2 separate regions of the Homo sapiens genome follow, and region 2 is linked to region 1. The links are contacts of gene promoters, found by promoter capture Hi-C in blood cells and fetal thymus (Javierre and others, 2016). All regions are on one chromosome and are shown on one strand. The core of a region is centred on a gene start or on the middle of the fragment in contact, and the rest is flanking DNA. Distances in the headings are between cores, read along the strand shown. Region 1 holds the start of VAV3 (vav guanine nucleotide exchange factor 3). Region 2 has its middle 6.4 kb from the start of FNDC7.

Region 1 (4,978 bases), core at 1,315-3,814:
CACTTGTTAATGAAAAGTGGCTACTATTGGGTAATATTTATTGAGCTCTAATTATCAGGCACCACACATTCTATGCATTGTATCAGTGCTTCTTGGCTTTTGATGGAAATACATGGGATATGGAGATCTTAAAATTCAGGTTCTGGTTCATTCAGTATGAGAGTAGAGGCCAAACGTCTACAGTGCTGACAAGTTCAAGGGTGATGCTGCTGTCCACAGGCTGCATTTTGAATAGCAAGACATTGTACCATTTGATCCTGACAACAACCCTATTAGTTAGAAATTACTTCTTATGGCCAGGCACGGCGGCTAACGCCTGTAATCCTAGCATTTTGGGAGGCCGAGGCGGGCGGATCACGAGGTCAGAAGATCTAGACCATTCTGGCTAACACGGTGAAACCCTGTCTGTACTAAAAATACAAAAAAAATTAGCCGGGCGTGGCGGCCGGCGCCTGTAGTCCTAGCTACTTGGGAGGCTGAGGTAGGAGAATGGCGTGAACCCGGGAAGTGGAGCTTGCAGTGAGCTGAGATCGCGCCACTGCACTCCAGCCTGAGCGACAGAGCGAGACTCCGTCCACCCCCCACAAAAAAAAAAAAAAATTTCTTATTTCGTATCTATGGAAACTGAACTGTAGAGAATTTATCCAAGGTCATGTTGCTAGAAAGCAGTACAGCTCGGGCTCTAAATCCAGATTTGCGTCCTGGGATAGTGTATATAATGTGGATTTTGGAAATATTCTCCAACATCCAAAGGTGATCTGATGCTACCTGAAAAAAATTCATAGTTTTAGTTTAAATTTTGACCCGTTTAATGAAATTTCTTTTTAATTTCTCTTTATGAAAGACTGTGTTAAATGGTGATTCAAATGTGTTGGATTTTGCTTCTAAAGGTATGTAGAGATTAGTATGATTTATTTGCCAAAATTATGGCCTAGAAAATGTCGTGCTATTGATGGAATCCGCATTGAACACAAGAGGAAATTGCTAGGGAAGGATGCGTGTGAGGAAAGGAAATCCTCAGGCTGATTTATTGTTCAGCGCTGAGTGTAAACAGTGTGCTATCCTTGTCACAGCCAAACGAAAAAGGACGCAATCACTATCCTGAACAGATCATTCTTTTAAAAATAATATTTTGGCCTGCTTATAAAGCATGGTTCGTAATAAAAAATTTGGGCTACAGAAATATAATACAATTAAATTATCCAAACTCCCATCTTTTTGTTTGTTTGTTTGTTTGTTTTTTGAGACAGAGTCTGGCTCTGTCGTCCAGGCTGGAGTGCAGTGGCTGGATCTCAGCTCACCGCAACCTCCGCCTCATGGGTTCAAGCGATTCTCCTACCTCAGCCTCCCGAGCAGCTGGGACTACAGGTGCGTGCCACCACGCCCGGCCAATTTTTTGTATTTTTAGTAGAGACGGGTTTTCACCGTGTTAGCCAGGATGGTCTCGATCTCCTGACCTCGTGATCCGCCCGCCTCGGCCTCCCAAAGTGCTGGGATTACAGGCGTGAGCCACCGCGCCCGGCCTATTTTCTAATTTTAAGTGAATGCATCTCAAAAGGGTGACGAAGGACCACATTCCTATCGAACAGCAATAATTCACTGTGGCAATATCTTGCCACAAATAATTTAAACATTAATTGTGGTTTTGAGGGGCAGTGTGCAGTGGGAGTAAAAGGGGTAGGGTTTAGAGTCTCCAAAAGATTTACTTAAGAAACACGAATGCACTGCTTGTGCACTGCGCAAAAGTTCTGGGGTCAAGTTCCAACTTTCACTAAGGATCCCAGAACAGCCCGGCAGGAGCTGCCCAGGGCTAACGCGCTTTGCTCTCAAACCCGGCCGCCAGTCGCCGACGCATGCGCAGTCTAGCACCGTGGCACAGGCCTTTCTCAAGCAGGTTTTTGTGGGGTCAGCAAAAGGGCCAGAACAGCAACGGCAAACAGTTCCGAGCCTGACAGTGCAGGGGCAAACCAGCTCCAAGTGAAAATCACCTCGCGAGGAAATAGGCTCAGGGATCGGGGCGGTTTCCGCAGGCGTCTCCACACACGCACTCTCACTCACTTTGAGGGTGCCAAAACACCACTAGGGGCAACTAGGAGGAATAGGCTGAGGAATCAGCTATAGAGAATGGAGGGGATAGAGCTGCAAGGGGCGAGGGGGCGACGATCTCTAAAACTTTCAGCGCCGTGCTCTACTGATGCTCTAGGCACTTTTTTCATTGCTCTGGGGAGTCTGGGTGCCCCAATTAATCCGTCGCTCCTTTGAGCATTTGTTGTTTAGGGGGTCCTGGGGGACCCCATCGTATTACAGTATTCAGCCACACTCCCCGCAAAGCCGGGAAGCCGCCCCGAGAGAAGACCCCAGGACGCCGGGGGCTGCGTGAGCCCCGCAAGGCTGCAGGCGGGGGCGCGGGATCCCCTTTCTGGCCGCCGCCCCCCTCCGCCGGCCCCTCCCCCGCGCCCCGCCCTCGGCCACAGACCCCAGCCCCGGCCGCCGGCGCGCTCCCACCCGCGCGTCTGGGGACTTGCGGACCGCAGCGAGACCGGCCGGCGTGCTGGGCATGCTCAGTGGCGGGCCGGGCGCTGGAGTCGGAAGCCTGTGCGCGGCAGCCGCCGCCGAGCCGGCCGGGGCGCACGGAGAGCGCGCGGGACTCGCTGCAGCGGCGGCCGGGTCGCGGCGCACCCGGGCCGGGACCGGAGCCGAGCCTAGCGCGGCGCCCGCGACCCGTCAGCCGCGGCTCCTGCTCCCTCGATCCCGCGCGGGGAAAGGGCCGGCGGCTGTTGGCGTCGGCGGGGCGCGGAGGAACCGCGGCGGCGGCGGCGGCGGCCGCATCCTTGCCGCCCGCCCCGGCCCAGCCGCGTCCCGGAGCCGTCGGGCATGGAGCCGTGGAAGCAGTGCGCGCAGTGGCTCATCCATTGCAAGGTGCTGCCCACCAACCACCGGGTGACCTGGGACTCGGCTCAGGTGTTCGACCTTGCGCAGACCCTCCGCGATGGAGTCCTGCTCTGCCAGCTGCTTAACAACCTCCGGGCGCACTCCATCAACCTGAAGGAGATCAACCTGAGGCCGCAGATGTCCCAGGTGAGGAGGCCGGCACGGGCGCCCCGCCTCCAGCCGGCAGCTCCCATTAATCATGCGGCTAATTTCTTTGTGTAAATGCAAACGTCTAGGTGCGCTGAGCTTGCCCTGCTTCCCAGCCTTCTGCTTTGGGACCACTTCGGCACCACTTTGGCGTTTCCTACCTTGGCTTGAAATGGTTTAGCTCCTCAAGCTGAATGCGAAAGCTTTGCGTCCGGAGATGGTGTGAGGATTTCGTAAAGGCTTTCTGTGAGGCGGGAAAGAAATAAGTTGTCTTAGGGTGCCCTTCACCTACTCTGCGTGTGTGTGGCGCGACAAAGGGAATTTGATCAAGCTCTTCTATAATAACGAAGGGGAGGGACGAAACGAGGTGATGGGGTAATTTGCCTTTAGTCTCTTCTTTTGCTTTGCGTCTTGTACTCATGTTTTCCTAAAAGAGGAACCATGACATACATGAGGACTCGAGGAAGTGAAGGGCGTTTGGTCCCGTTATCTGTCCAGGAGTGACATTGGTCAAAGGGAAGAACAGGGAGCAGAACCCGGAGGCCGCCCCCAGGGCCCCTGAGCTGGTGGCCAGCCGGCAAGCTCCCGTTTACAGCTCTTCCTAAGCCATGTGAGAAGGAGCGAGTCCAGCCTCTCTCAGCAGCGACAGGAAATGAGAAGTTTCACTAGAGATTCCGCTTTCCTTCCTGCAGTGCCCTGCTCAGGTGCTGTGGTGCCGGTCGGCTCCTGGGGCTGGAGCTGCCTCTTTGAGGGTTAAGCCAGACACCTCTGGAAGGTTGGGTGCACCCTAGAGTCAGCTCAAAAGTCACAGTTCAGTGGAAGAGTAGTTTATTTGTCCTGTCGGAAAATTTTTGTACAGAAGGATGTTAAACTCGGTTCAGAGCCTCTTTCTCTTTCAGAATGTTAAAACAAAACAAAAAACCAAACTGCTTTCAACTTAAAAGGGAGAGGACAGAGCCCTCTCCCTGACACATTTCAGCACTAATCCTCTATGACGCAGAGCCTCAGCTACTTAGCAACCAGAGCAGCGCCTTTTAAGAAGGAACGGACTTTATATGATTTAATAAGTATGTATTTAAAGTTAGAGCACACACAGTCATCTGTGATTCTTGGTGTCAGTGTTTCATCAGGGTCCCCTGCACTTCAGATTCTGCATTCCTTGCCTGTTTGCCTTCAACCTGCTGGTGGGCAGTCCCTAAGAAAGAACAGGCATGGAAGTGGGGAGAGCCATACGTATTTAAAAGTGAGGTAAATTATTTTATACCCCCATAAACATGCATGGTGATTGCTACCTCTCGGTACCCCTTCAGAGTTGTCTCAACTCTGGAAATTCCTTTGAGGGGTTTGGCAGACTTTTCTATTATGGTGGGAGCTGCAGTTAGCTACTCTCACACATCCCCATTTTCCACTTTGCCTGTAGCCTCAGGAGGCAGCGTGGGTCAGGATGCCTTGGCCCACCAGTAGGGAGTACAGTACTGTGCACATTTCCTGGAACTTGTTTCCTGGAACTCTCAGCAGTTGCTCTCAATAATCACGTTTTCTGGACAGCTGAAGACCTTTTTAAACCTCGAAGCCTTTATTTGAATGCTAACAATGGATGAGAATCGTTTTGAATGTGTTTCACTCTTCTCCTCTTATGTTAGATGTAATTTAATCTTTCTGATGACCAAAGATTGTCATTATAAGCATCATTAATGAAAATTGAGCACATACAATGCTCTAAGAGTTCTGTTCCCTAGTGGGGGTAGCAAAATGAGCACACCAGGATACTTGCCCTAAAGGAATTATTACACTATGCTATCAGATGGTAAATCACTGGGTTATAATAAGGTAAGTAGGACAGCTAATGACCTTCTTTGTGCCGTTGCACTTTTGAGTTCTTAAGTCTGTTCAACCTTGA
Region 2 (4,978 bases), core at 1,284-3,783, 740 kb before region 1:
GGAGGCTAAAGGGGCTGCAATGGAATGAAAAGTTGGCAGGAGCAATAGAATGGAGGACCCAAGGGAGTTAAAGAATTGTTGGAGAGGATCTTAGAGAAAGTAAGCAGGAAATATAGGAGTTGGTGATTAGAGAATGGGATGCTTGATTGAAATGGAAACCGTGGAGAAGTGCCAGTTATTGATGATGGCCAGGTCTATGATGTAACCATTGGAACTGGCAGCTGAGGTCAGATGGAGGAAAAAAATCATTGGAGGTCAGGAGGTCAAAAAATTGAGAGGTCTGAGTATTGGAAAGATTGTTCAATGGATATTGGAATCACTAAGAATTATGGCAAGAGTGGTGAAAGAGGTATTGAGCCTCTATTAAACTCTATAATTATTAAAATATTAGGGGAGTATCTATTGGGTATGGATGATATAGACAACTGAGGGACAGTAGATGGTGTAATCTGATGACGTGTTTTATAGGACCTAGGGGATTCAGGAAAGAGAGAAAAACAATGGTCTGGAAGTACAATGATTTTAAAGAAATGAGTTAGGAAAGATAATTATTGTGTTAGCAACCGTCTCTGGCTAATGTCAACTTCTTGGTTGTCAAAATAGGTAATGAGTGTTATCGCTGAACTGTTCCATTGGGAAACAATGCAAATAAAGCGGTTGCTTTTGTAATATGAATTTACTTTAAAGCTTTGAATGACTAAATTTACCAGCTGTCTGAAATTCTCGCTTCAGGAATGAGATTCTGCAAAGCAGTGAATGCATGAATTTTGATACTGAAGGGAATGGAGCTAAGACAACCAAGAGGGGAAATAGCTACAAGAGTAAGTCTATTTACACATTATTAGTGTACTAATAAGGTAATATCAGCAAATTTAAGATTAGTAAATAATGCAAAGGCCAGGAGAGGGACTGAAAATAAAAGATAAAGATAAGAGTCTGGAACGGAAGAGGGAGAAAATGTGAGGATGCTCCACACAAGAATCATCCACTTTCCAGACCACACATGCCTGTGTTGATGCTTCCTGACACCCACCCTCCTTCACTAAGCTCATGCGCACTACTTTAGCTTATGTTACTTGGTGTGCAATTCCAGATCTCAGAACTGTGATTAGTCGGGATTAGGTTTTGCTGAGAGTGGACAGAAAACCTATAACAGTGGCTTAACCAGAAGTTTCTTCCTGATATAAAATAGTAGAGGCAAAGCCTCCAGGAGTGGCGTGGCAATTCTATTCCACGGAGTCTTGAGAGACCCAGGCTCCTTTTTCCTCTTTAGTCTGCCATCCCTAGGAGGAGGCCCTCCTTCTTGGTCCAAGATAAAGTTCCAGCTATCACATTAAAGTTCTAAGCAGCAGAATTCAGTGAGAGGAGATAAAAGAGACTAACGATACATTCCAGTAATCTCTATTGGGGAACAATTGGCAGTCTACCACACAAATGAATGAATAAATAAATGTGATCTGGTGCATAGGTAGATCAGCCAAGGGCAGAATTTAAGACATGTAACGGAAAGATATAGAGAGAGGTGGCCAGGCGCATTGGTTCATGCCCATAATCCCAACACTTTGGGAGGCCAAGGCAGGTGGATCACTTGAGCCTAGGCGTTTGAGAGCAGCCTGGGCAACATGGAGAGACCCCATCTCTACCAAAAATATAAAAAAGTCTCCAGGTGGGGTGGCGTGTGCCTGTAGCCCCAGCTACTCAGCAGGCTGAGGTGGGAGGAGTGCTTGAGCCCAGGGAGGTCAAGGCTGCAGTAAATATGAATATGAAATGAATATGGAGATGAAGTAGGAACTTCAGAAACTAGTAAAGATTTGAAGTGGCCATTGTAGGGGATATCAAAAAGAAATATTTAGGGATATAGAAGGAATGTAGAGTAGGATTAACTCCAGGAAAACATTGGAAACTGCAAGATTTTTAGTGGCCCTAATCCATAATGTAGTCTTCCACCATGCCCTTACATCCCCCTTCTGCCAAAGGCAGACCATTTCCACCAAAAAAAAAAAAAAAAGAGGAATCATATAAAACTTCCTATTTGGGCCCAGCATGGTGTCTCATGCCCATAATCCCAGCATGTTGGGAGGCCAAGGTGGGAGGGTTACTTGAGCCCAAGAGTTCCAGACCAGCCTGGGCAATGCAGTGAGACCCCACCTCTATAAAAAATTAGCCAGGTGTGGTGGTGTGTGCCTATAGTCTCAGCTACTTGGGAGGCTGAGGTAGGAGGATCACTTGAGCTTGGGAGGTTGAGACTACAGTGAGCCACGATCGTGCCACTGTACTCCAGCCTGGGCAACGGAGCAAGACCATGTCTCAAACAAACAAACCCCACTTTTTGTCACAAACACACACCACTTTTTTTCTTCTTCACTCAAATTAAGTAGATGGTATTTTCTTGCTGGTACTAACAAGGATAAACAGATTAAAAACTCAATGTTAGAAAATATCAGGAAGACCCTTACTGATCAGAGATTCCTGGTTATTACAATAAAAGAAACCAGAGTTAGGCTCCTGTATTCCAGGGAAGAGAAACTCAGGCCACCTTAAGAAAAACAGAGAAATTGCAAGGATATCCACTGACCAGACTGGGAAAAAACTAGAAAGCCAGCAGGAAGTGAGGCAGCTTCAGGGTCCGGTGACTCTTTTACATGGTCACTGTTGTAAGACAACTATGCATCTTGTCCACTCTTCTAAGGACTGGCCAATTCTTAGTTTTCTGTTAAAATTCTGAAAGAAGCCTGTCTGATTCACTTACATAATTCTCAACAAACTTCTTGGGCTGAGCCCTTTATACTAGACTACTTCATCAGCCAGCCAAAGGAGGGAGCATCCATATGACTGGCATCATTTTAATACATTGTACCATTCAGGGTCCAGTCCAGAGACAGAAAACACACAGTAATTCCAAGAGGCAAAGTTTGATACAAAGAATTATTAACCAGTAACGGGGTTAACTACTAAAGGTAAAGAGAAGGCTAAAAAAATACAGTAATAGTGGATATAGGGAGCAGCCATTACCTCTAGTGCTGAGGCAGAGGACCCAAGAAAAGAACAAATGTGGGGGACGTGGCTGGGCACAGTGGCTCACATCTGTAATCTCAGCACTTTGGGAGGCCAAGGAGGGAGGATTGCTTGAGGCCAGGAGTTTGAGACCAGCTTGGGAAACACAGTAAGACCCAGTCCCTAGGAAGAAAAATAAAAATCAGCCAGTTGTAGGGGCACCCGCCCATAATAATCCTTCCTAACCACTCAGGAGGCTGAGGCTGGAGGATTGCTTGAGCCCTGGTTGAGTCTGCAGCGAGCTGAGATCGTGCCACTGCACTCCAGCCTGGGTGACAGAGCAAGGCTCTGTCTAAAACAACAATAACAACCAAAACAAAACAAACAAACAAAAAACGAAAACATTAGGAGACGTTCCCTTGCTAGACTGAGATTCAGACCTTGTTGGCGAGGGTGCAGTTGTGGCTTCTCAGCAAATGCTGAGAAGCTGAAGGTTGGAGCTGGAGAGCAGAGGTGTCAACAAAAGTAGCTAGGAGGCCACCCACTGGGGTGCCACTGAGACTTACTGGGAAACCTGTGAGGTCCTGCTGAAACTCCTGGGCAGGTGCCTGCTGGAGCACTAGCAAACTTGCTGGGAAGCGGGCAGGGGACTCGTGGACTTGCGGGGAACTCCCACTTCTCTCAATGAGATGGTACTGAAATTTGCTGGGGGATATATATTGCTGGGTGCTCTACATGCCACTGGCCCCTACACAATGGAGAAGCAAAAAGAAAAAAGAAAACACACCTCTCTGCTGCAGCTCCCTCCAGCATGCTCCACTGACACGCTTAACATTATGCCAGCCGGCAATGGAAAAATGTTTAAAAGGCCCAGCTCCAGAATCACGAAGCAGGGAAATAAAAGGTGGATGTGGAGCTAGAAAATGTATAAATAACTGGCACATCCACAAATCACTGGCTGTCCCTGCACAAGTTTCGGCTAACCCATGGAACACTTCATTCAGGAAATGTTCACCGAACCAGTACCTGGATTGGCTGGATGAGTGTTGCATTTAAGATTTTCCCTCTATTGGTATAGTCGAATATCCAGGACATTGACTTCAAAATTTCTAAATAAGAGGGAAGGAGAAGACAAGAGGTCTTCCCTTGCATTTGCTCAGCAAGCACTGCTTGTTTTCACTTAGATTATATGTTTATTTTGGATGTCAGAGGTTCATAGCTGATGGAATTTGTTGGAGGGCGGGGCAGGGATGTGTGTGACTAATTGCACTGACTCAAGAAACAGAGAAATAATTCAGCTTCAGAATGGCCAGAACAAGAATCAGCCAAGGAAAACCAACTGAAGATTGGTGGACTTTAAGTACCTGCAGATCAGGGAAGCTTATGTGAGGATTTCTTTACAATAAGTAGTTCTTTTTCCAATCCTTGTGGCAAAACCTCAGGGCTTACATGAAATGCTGTAAGGTCAGTTCTCTGTTTATGCAATAGGCTGAAAAAGCACCCCCCACCCCCTAACACACACATCTGGATACATATCTGTGCTACACATTGTGGATCATGATTATGTAAATAGAAATGCTTTGAATATCAATACTCTGAGAAATCAAATAACGGATTTTAAGTCAGCCATGATGCTAACATTTTCCAGTTGTGACAATGGTCCCAATAAATGCCATTTCAGAGGTACTTGCAAAGTACTGTGGGACTTTATAGGGTGGAATGACGGAGGGGAAATTTCAGAGTGACACTACCAAGAAGCGTTTCCTGCCACGTAAAATCATCTCTACTTAAGAGGTCCTATAATTTAGTCATTCAAGGCTGATTTCAGCATTTACGTAATAGAATCAAACTAGGAACAGAATCAACGCCCATCAGTTGGCCAATATCACCTGAGAATTGGTCCACTAGTCAGTGTTTGAGGTTGCACGTTGGCATCAGTTGAAAGATGTACAAACTGCCAGTGGTGGGACCTCATCTCTACTAA

What was found. Contacts are between HindIII fragments. The CHiCAGO score rates a contact against its expected background, and 5 or more counts as called.
Region 2: a fragment that was not itself captured here is called in contact with the fragment with the promoter of VAV3 in region 1 in 1 of 17 cell types (neutrophils); the score reaches 5.6 in neutrophils.

What each region holds. Positions count from the first base shown.
Region 1 is chr1:107,962,766-107,967,743 of GRCh38, reverse strand. It overlaps VAV3 (vav guanine nucleotide exchange factor 3), which reads left to right and starts at 2,564. Exons shown (of 27, transcript NM_006113.5): 1 at 2,564-3,078. The coding sequence starts at 2,875. It overlaps VAV3-AS1 (VAV3 antisense RNA 1), which reads right to left and starts at 3,301. Exons shown (of 3, transcript NR_046653.1): 1 at 3,240-3,301. RefSeq lists enhancers at 1,778-1,847, 1,783-2,077, 3,424-3,553. The HindIII fragment of the contact is 4,630 bases long and covers 1-3,283 here.
Region 2 is chr1:108,703,978-108,708,955 of GRCh38, reverse strand. No RefSeq gene overlaps it. Among named protein-coding and RNA genes, the nearest start is that of FNDC7, 6.4 kb to the left of the region's middle. The HindIII fragment of the contact is 3,687 bases long and covers 690-4,376 here.